3 separate regions of the Homo sapiens genome follow, and regions 1 and 2 are each linked to region 3. The links are contacts of gene promoters, found by promoter capture Hi-C in blood cells and fetal thymus (Javierre and others, 2016). All regions are on one chromosome and are shown on one strand. Each heading gives the region's core, a stretch centred on a gene start or on the middle of the fragment in contact. The rest is flanking DNA. Distances are from core to core; before and after follow the strand shown.

The links. The method cuts DNA at HindIII sites, captures the fragments that hold promoters and counts their contacts. A CHiCAGO score of 5 or more calls a contact.
Region 1: a contact is called between the fragment with the promoter of UCP1 here and the fragment with the promoter of MGAT4D in region 3, in 17 of 17 cell types (erythroblasts, neutrophils, activated CD4 T cells and 14 more). The highest score is 12.8, in erythroblasts.
Region 2: the fragment with the promoter of CLGN here is called in contact with the fragment with the promoter of MGAT4D in region 3 in 17 of 17 cell types (total CD4 T cells, monocytes, neutrophils and 14 more); the score reaches 10.9 in total CD4 T cells.

Annotation. Positions count from the first base shown.
Region 1 is chr4:140,567,225-140,570,298 of GRCh38, forward strand. UCP1 (uncoupling protein 1) reads right to left here and starts at 1,737. Exons shown (of 6, transcript NM_021833.5): 1 at 1,380-1,737; 2 at 555-753. The coding sequence starts at 1,505. The HindIII fragment of the contact is 4,953 bases long and covers 139-3,074 here.
Region 2 is chr4:140,426,221-140,429,046 of GRCh38, forward strand. CLGN (calmegin) reads right to left here and starts at 1,428. Exons shown (of 15, transcript NM_004362.3): 1 at 1,317-1,428. RefSeq lists an enhancer at 585-634. The HindIII fragment of the contact is 13,619 bases long and covers 1-2,826 here.
Region 3 is chr4:140,496,928-140,499,879 of GRCh38, forward strand. MGAT4D (MGAT4 family member D) reads right to left here and starts at 1,366. Exons shown (of 11, transcript NM_001277353.2): 1 at 1,202-1,366. The coding sequence starts at 1,295. RefSeq lists enhancers at 886-1,387, 1,388-1,887. The HindIII fragment of the contact is 3,126 bases long and covers 1-1,600 here.

The sequences.
Region 1 (3,074 bases), core at 487-2,986, 71 kb after region 3:
TCTTTCCTGGACCTGATGAGGAACCTCTTAAGAGGAAATATGTCTTTTCCTGTCCTTTCAACTCTCTTCACAAAGTCTGGCTTTCTTTGCTTCAAACAGAAGGCTTTGAACTTTGTTGCATACACAAATGATGAGGGAAGCTTGTGGAAAGACACTCTGGTCTCTAGCCTGAGGATTCAGACTCAGAGGACCATGGTAGTCCTCGTTTGGATTTCTGACAAGCTCCATAGATGTTTCTGATATACTTCCCTCTTTGGAGAACTTTAAGTTAAACATTTTTCTGTAGCCCACCCATATTCTCCAGATGGAGATCCAAACTGGGCACAAAACTTCCATGACTGGGTGACCTTTACAAGTATATATCTGCATCTAAAAAATCGATTTTGCATACTTTTTTCTATGAACAATGAGCTAATGTTTGGGGAAGGGAGAGTTCAAATATGAATGTTTTCTCGCCAATTTGTTATGAAAACCACTCCTCTGTGTGTTACACTTTTTGGAACAGAGCGGAGCCCAAGGCTTTTCTGCCCCTCCCAGGAACGCTCACGGCTTACTTTCTTTCCCTGCGGTGAGGAACTCCTGGACCGTGTCGTAGAGGCCGATCCTGAGAGAGGCGGAGCTGATTTGCCGCTGAAGCCCCGCAGGCAGCCCGCTGTAGAGTTTCATCCGCCCTTCTGTTTTTACCACAGCGGTGATTGTTCCCAGGACACCTTTATACCTAATAACACTGGACGTCGGGCATTCACCTTGGACCTGGAAATAAGAAAGGTGCAGAACAGAAGGGAGCGAAATTGAGTTCACTCTTAAGCCAAGATTTCCCCCTGTGTTCCTATTTTCCGTTTCTTTTCTCAGCAACATTCCTCTTCCATCCACCTCCCTCTACCGTGTGTGTGTGTGTGTGTGTGTGTGTGTGTGTGTGTGTGTGTGTGTGTTCGCTCACGCGCAGATGGAGGGAGGCTGGCTACAATGCACATTTTGAATATCCCCCTCCCCAGGAACTCTCCAGAACCCCTAGGGCAGTAGGATAGGACAGAACCCCCGAAGAATCAAAGAAAGGAAAAAGCACCTGACTAGTAAACTCAGGAGAGGCCAATATTCTCAGCTCTTAAAATACTAAGTGCACCCTAAATTTTGGGAGAATTTGGTAGTAGTCATGGTCAACCCATTCTCTGTGGCCCTGGTGGTTCTTCAGCTAATCCCAGAAAAAGTTCCAGTTTCCCATCCTAAAGCACCAGCCCTGGGACAAGGCCAGACTGCTTTGGAAGGTCACCTACCCTACCTAGAAACAGTGGTTACACCAAAGCAGAGAATAAATGGAATGCACGCAACAGCGTCCCCTCTGTCCTGAGACCCCTTGTCTTACCCCTCTGCCTAGCTACCTGGAGCCGGACTTTGGCCGTGTCCAGCGGGAAGGTGATCACGTCCGCCAAGCACGCCGCTATTCCAGCTGAGAAGAGCTGGACCCCCAGGGTCGGGTGTACGTCCGAGGCTGTCAGGCCCCCCATCTTCACTCAGAGACTGGAGATGCAGAGGAAAAGGGCTCCAGCCCCGAAGGTGGAGGAAGTTCCTTTCCCTTGCTCTTCACGCCTGTCCGCCGGGCAGCAAACCCGATTTCTGTTTTTTGAACCGACCGCCGGGCAGCGGCGGTGCAGAGGCGGCGGCTGCAGACGGAGCGCGGTGTTGGGGGCCGAGTCCCCGCGTCCCCTCCTACCCACCCTCGCGCCAGCAGGACCCTCTGCGTTCCGGTCTTCCGCTGGGACTTATATAGCTGGGCCGCTCCCGGGCTGGGCCGCGCGAGGTCTCAGAAGACCCGGGCGTGGGACCTGCCGGGGGCGTGTCCGGGAGCACCGGGTCCCTCCCATTCCCATTCTCGCTCGGTGCCTCGGGAGCCCTGCTTCGCTCCCCGAAAGCCCTGGGCCGGCCGCTGGTTGTCTGCGCCCCGCACACCGCACGTCGGAGGGAGGGCGCACCGCGGCGGTCAGCACCCGCGCCCCCGCACGTGCCTCACCTTCTGTCACCCTTTGGCTGCACACCTTCGGCTGGGGCTTTCGGAAACCAGCACGATATCAGAGCCTTGGTGAAAGGTTCTGCCTAGCTGGAGCTCTCCCAGAAGGAAGAGCGGGGCACTCTTCCATTCCTCCAACTCCCCAGACATCTTGCAGGCACCTTGCGGCCTTCTCTGCTTCCCTTTCCTCTCCTTTAAACTTCTCATCCTCCTTCCTCCGGATTCCTTCTCTTCCCACTACCAAATTCAGACTTGGAAGAATCCCACACAGGAACCAAGAGCACTCTGAACTTGTCAAAAAGAGCGTTTCGTTTCATCACTTTTTGAGAGAAGATGTCAAACGAGACAATAGACACACTAGAAAGCAAATAGTACATTGCTAAAGCACCGTACAAAATGAGATACCACCTGTTCCTTCTAATTAGATTTCTTAGAGGGTGCAGTGGAAAGGACAGGGCAGGTTGCTTGGCTCCAGGTGCAGCTCTCCAGCTTACCAACTCTGTGAACCTGGGAAAGTCATCTGTACTCCAGCTTTTATTTTCAACAGTGTAAAATGTGGTTCCAGAGCTAGCCCAGGTCTGAAATCTCCCTGCTAACTTACCTATAATGATGTAATATGTGTTGGTTGTGTGGCCTTTCCTAGTTCGATCTTTGTGCAAATTTTATTTTCAATGTTTATTCTTGTGAAAACTTAAGAAAACAAAAAACTTTTAAAAAAAACAGTGGGAAATAATAGGAAACTGGAGAAAGAGGGAAATGGACAAGGTCAGGTCCCAGCTTTCAGAACCTCTCAGTTAAGCCAAAGATGGATTTGATATTACCAGAATCCACGTCCAGCTATTTAGGGCCTCTGGTACTCAACCCTGACTTAAGCCCCCCAAAAGAGTCAGTGGAAGTCAGAGTCATCTCCTCCAGGAGCAGGAGAAATAAGACATGAATAAAGAATAATCTCCAAACCCTCTATAAGTAAAGGTTGTGTACTGTGCAAGAAGCCAGTCCTAAGGCACTTCCAAGGGAGGTCAGGCTTGCAGAGCTTCCCTGAAAAAGGCAATGTTGACCTGACGGGTAG
Region 2 (2,826 bases), core at 178-2,677, 71 kb before region 3:
CCTGTTTTCTCATTTGTGACGTGAACTAGACAATCCAAAGATTCTTTAAAGTTCATAATTCTAGTTTTCTATTTAAAAACACCAGTATTTATTAGGTACTTAAAAAGTACTACAGCTAACTTACAACACTTCAATTTCTAGACAAATGCATCAACATACTTACATCATTTACACACAATAATTAACCTTATCAACTAGCTAAGACAGAGAGTACAGAATATCTTGTTCTGAGGATTTGGAGATGAGATCTAAATGTTACTGGAAGATCAAACCAATAAGACGTGAAGGCAAAACTCCAAACTGAAAACAGGTCAAACTTACAATGACCCAAAGGAGGGCTACCTCGAGTGATGTCGACATTTGTAAAACAAGCAAAATCATCAGATGAGATCGGGATTTTGCCTGCTTTTAAGCAACAAAAAGTTTATACGTTAATGAACTCTTTTCTAATTTGAGACTTCTTCCTGTGGCCACGTTATTTACCTTTTCTCTCCCAGTCCTGAGCTTTGGTTGCCATTTGCTTTTAACTCCCAAGCAAACACCTCCTCTTTGTTGCTTGGGCAGATGCTATAAATAAAATCAGCGAAAGTGTCTGATTGATGGTAAACAGGCCTGGGGCGATAATGAGTCTAGTAATTAGGGCCTCTCTGGATTCAACCCAGCCCTTTCGCCCGCCCCCCGGCGGCGCACAATGGGCTCTGCGCGGGTATCGAGGGAGCGGCCAACAGTCCCTGGCCCCACCGCCGTGAAGTGGGGTCCCTTCGCTTCCACATAGGTGGAGACTGAGACAGCCGAGCCTATTTTGATCTCGTTTGGGTTTCTGTAAGGAGCAGTCAGCAGAGTGAGCAGCGCCCAGACGCGCCCCGGGCCCCCTCTACAACCATTGGGAGAGCGCCCCGGGCTCAAGCGTGGAACGGGGCTGCAATGGCAACCGCTGGAATAACGGCCTCGGCTCCCGGTGGCTCCTCAAGCCCGCAGGGGAGGCCGGCCGGGCTAGGCACCTAGCTGTCCCCGTGCTCGTCCGCCCCAGCCCGGGCGCAGCAGGTGGATGCGGCGGTGCTGAAGACACAAAGGGTCCCAGGTGGCACCACCTCCTGCGTCCACCCACGGGGCCGCCAGAGCCCAGTCAAGACCCTAGCTCGCTGCAGCCCCATCGCCAGACTCAACATCCACCCTCACTTGGCCCCGACCGGTTCAGCCCTCTGGCGGCAAAGTAACGGGGTGCCTGGGGGAAGCAGCAACGACTCCGCTTCCTCACCCCAATCTGCGCGCAAAGGGCAGCGGGACAGCGGGAACGCGGCCTGCTGCTCACGCACCTCTCTTGCGGCCTGTTTTCGGCAGTGACAGCTCAGATGTCCAAGTCGTTGCCACTTGGTCCCCGCGTCTCTTCAGACCAGTCCCGCCGGCGGCCGCGCAGCAGCGACTACTAACCGCGCGTGCGCGTGCGGTGGCGGGCGGGAGGCGGTGGCGGCCCGAGGTGTGTGCTACGCGCTCCTGCTCCGAGGGGCTCAACCGCCTCCAGGGGGAGCCGCACATGGAGCCTGTGCCGCCGCCGGCCGGTTGTGGCCTGGACCCCGCTCCCGGGTTAGCCCAGGAGGAATTCCCCCTGCAAGTCCGAAGACTTTTCCTCCTCTGAGCTCCCGCCCTCTCTGCAGACCGTGCTACCTCCTGTTGCGCAATGATTGGGTCCTGAATTTTATGTAAATCATATTTATGAACAACGTCCAGTAATAAGTGCAGCAAGATTAGGGCTCTAGGTTTTCTCCAGAGTTCTAGATGTTAACAGATCTGCAGTCATGGTGATTAATAAGGAGCTTTCCTGTCTGGTGTGTGTATATGACAAATACAGATGCGTTAAGTGTTAATAAATACATTGTATATAAAACAATATGTTCTTTTTCTCTCGAACAACACTATTAATAAGAGCTGCTAACATTTATTGTGTTCATTGTGCTCTAAGGGGCTTACATTCATTGTTTAACCTTCGTGGCAACCCAGGTGATGAAACTGATGGCAACTTGCTCGAAGTTACACAACATGTAAACAGTGGAAACGGGATGTAAATCAGGCCTGTCTCTCTCAGAGCCTGTAGTTTCAAACACATTGAAATAAATCTTAGCATAAACGTAGTTTATGCTATGATTATGCAATCACAAGCTGCTTTGCCTTTTATATATTGGATCAATATTAATTTTACTACTTAATATTTTATAGTAAATCTTGACTTTGAATTTGGTATAACAATTTAATTTTATTGGAAGATTAATTAACAACATTTAATTGACTTGTGAGTCTAAGACCCTTGTTGAAGAGTTTCAATCTTAAGGGTTTGGTGGCATTCCGTGCACAACGTATCATTATTGGCTAGGGGTCAAGATCACTGAGTTTTTTCACATTGCTTCACTAATTAAGACCAGCATTTCTAAACTTTTGACTTTGTCATCTCTGGGAGAGTGTTTGGATAGTGTTAAAATTTACTGGTTAAAAAGACATTTTGTTTGAGATACTTTGTAACAATATTATACCCTTTATTTCTTTCTTCCGTCCTTCTGACTTCTATTATTCAACATACTTCTGTGGCCCATAACAAATACACTTGAACTGCTAGAGAGGGATTTTTTAAAGGATCCATTCAAAGTTTGCAGTGAGGAAGCTGAAAACTAAAAATGTAAGAATAGTGAATTTTTGCAAGATTTAGTAGTATCTTCTTGGTCACATAGTACTCAAAACCTTGAGAACATTTTTTTACTCTTTGGCTGCTACATTCACTGCCTCCATAAATTAAACTCTAACTCCATAAAATCATCTAAAAGAGGTCCTCACCCC
Region 3 (2,952 bases), core at 116-2,615:
TGCTAAAATAGACATTTGGATGATGTTCTTTATAGAAAATGAAGAGGAGGGAAACTATGTCAAATGACTATAAAGATTAGTAGAAATATTATAATGCAGATAAATTAATATGCATTCCTAATCTTTGAAACAAGCAGGATATAGAATATTTTGTGTATATGATGATAAAATCTAGTATTAACTGGAGGGCTAAAACATGAAGCCACTCCCAAACTTCAACCTCAGCACTCCTACCAAGATTACCTTGTGTGCACTTAAGTCATACATGTGTAAATAAACGAAAATTTAACTGAAAACAACGTAAGAGCAATCGTGGAAGGCTGGGTTCATAATTTACAGGGTTCCTAAGTCTTAAACTGAAAAATTTAACTACTTGAATGCTAAAATTTTACACCGCGGACAACTAGGGTTAAAAGATCAAATATAGGATACCTGGTTAAATTTGAAATTAAAATAAAAAAGACGTAAATATTTTAGAATAATTATGTCCCATGCAATTTTTTATACTAATATATAATTGTTTATCTGAAATTGAAATTAAACTGGGCAACCTGTACCTTTGTTTCCTAAATTGGCACTTCTATGGGCCAGGAGAAATTGCATCTTGAGTGTGTGTGGGAGCGGAACACAGGCCTGCGGTCCATCGGAGAAGTCCAGGCGCTGGGCCGGCGCTGTAGGTGGTCAGGGACGTCCCTCTCCTTTCTACCACCTCTTTTCAGGTACGCAAAAAACACTCCAGGGAGGAGGGAGGCATGAAGCGGGGCCTGGTGATGTAACCCAGACCACGAAGGAGGAAAGATGCGGACAGATGCTGGCTGTGTAAGAGCAGTTCTTGGGGTCAGACAGCCATAGTTTCGAGAAGGAAGAACAGGAGAGGGGAAAAGCAGTGCACAGACGGGGTCCTTGAACCTTTGAGGAAAAGGGAGCGGCGGGTACCCTGGGCCAGATGCGTTAGCGCGCGTGCAGGCCGGACGCGGCCCTGGAGGAGGAGGTCGGGGCGCGGGTTACAGCCCAGCCGCCGCTGACCGGGGTAGGCGCGGCCTCGGGAAGGCACCGACGCGGGCCTCCCAGTGCCAGCGCGGGCGGCCGCCGCCAGCTTCCCGCATCGCCTCCGCACCCGCCGACCCTGCCCCGCCTGCATTCCTGCAGCCCCGAAGCCCCCGCGGCGGGAAAGGAGGCGGGAGGAGGGCCCGCCGCTTACTGGTTTGAGTTATCCTGTAGATGGAGAAGCAAGAGAAGCTGAACAACGCGACGGCGACCAGGGTGATCAGCAAGTTCACCTGCTTGGTCCTCATGGCCCTGGCCAGGCTGCGGGAGGCCGGCGGGTGGAGGCGGCGGATAATGCCAGGGACGGGGTTGAGCGCGCAGAGCCCCCTCCCCGCGGTGCCGCGTGGGTCCCCAGCACACCCGCCCTGGGAAGCCGCCTTGCCACAGAACTTCTGCACCTTTTGCTTCCTGCTCTAGGGTTCAGCGCGTGCTATAAACCGCTGGCCAGGGCTACTGGTCGTTAAAAACGATAAACTAGGGAAAGCGCCCCATTGCCTGGCACGTGGTGGGTGCGCAATAACTGTTAGGTGACTTTCCTCGAGTGGCTTATCAAAGCTTTACCCAAGCTGAGAAACACTAGAGCATCAGTAGGATGAGACTCTCTATGGACTCCTTGATCTCTCCCCTCTAAGCTCTCCTCTCATTGAGGACTCACTGGCAGTCTGTTATAATATCTGAACATTCTACTTCAAATCAGCCCTGCACGTTGGAAGGGCTGGCTTCTGTCCCCTTGAAGGGGAAGAAAGATTTGAACATACCCCAGCCTGAGGATGCCACTATAGCCTGCGTGTTCTCATGTGCTAATGGCTAGGAGCTGTGACTTTCCATTGAGCCGGGACCCAGCCAGATCTCAAAACAAGGAGCCAGGAGAGACACCTCAACTATGTTCTCCTTCACCCCTTCAGTCTGTTGCCGGTGCTTGCCTTTGGCTGAGCTCTACTGAAAACCAGAAGACAAGAAAGTTCAGCTTGATGTACTGGATGGTCCAAACCTGGCTTCTAGGCTGTGGAGCAGGTTGGAGAAAACGTAGGGAAGATTAGGGTGGGAGAAGGAAGCTATTCAGCATAAAGAGAGATCTCCATACTCAGCATTTCACTGCCTTCTTACTTGAGGTCCAGTTTTTGCATTTTCAGTTGCCTACCCAGCCCTTCAGCTTGAATGTCCCACATCAGATTCAAGATGTCCAAACTTCCTCACCAAGCTATTAATAGCTGTTTTCCCAGAGTCCCTTGATTTTATCAGTGGCATCATAGTTCTTCTTACAATCATTTGGACTCTGGTTCATTATATCTCATTATTTATAAAATCTTTAGTTACCTAAAGGATTGTGTTTCTGTTGCTAGCTACTATCCCCAATACTCAGATGATCACAGTGACATTCAAACTGGTCTCACTGTCTGCAGGATCTACCCTCTGCAATCCACACTTCAATACCAGATACTCTTCCTAGTTCACCACAGTCAGCTGTCACTGTTGTTTACGTAGCTCCACTCCTGAATGAAAATGGACCCACTCAATCGAAGGCCACTCACTGCTTTCTCATCTCCCAGGGCGCCCTTACATGCCTCTGGCACCTGCCAGACTCTTTTTTCAATCCTACTCTGAACATGTCATGTTCACTTCTCTCCTTCTGTGCCTTTTCTCTTTATGTCTGCCCCCTGCCCACAATGTCCAGTGTCCTCTCTGACCATTGAAATTTTTTCCACATCGTCAGGTCTCATGTTTCATCTGTTTCATGAATCAAAACCTGGCTACAGCAGACCACTCTGATTTCCCCTTCTCTGAATTTATTTAGTATGTAGGGCAGGGATGTCCAATCTTTTGGCTTCCCTGGGCCACATTGGAAGGAAAATTGTCTTGGGCCACAAATAAAATACACTAACACTAATGATAGCTGATGAGCTA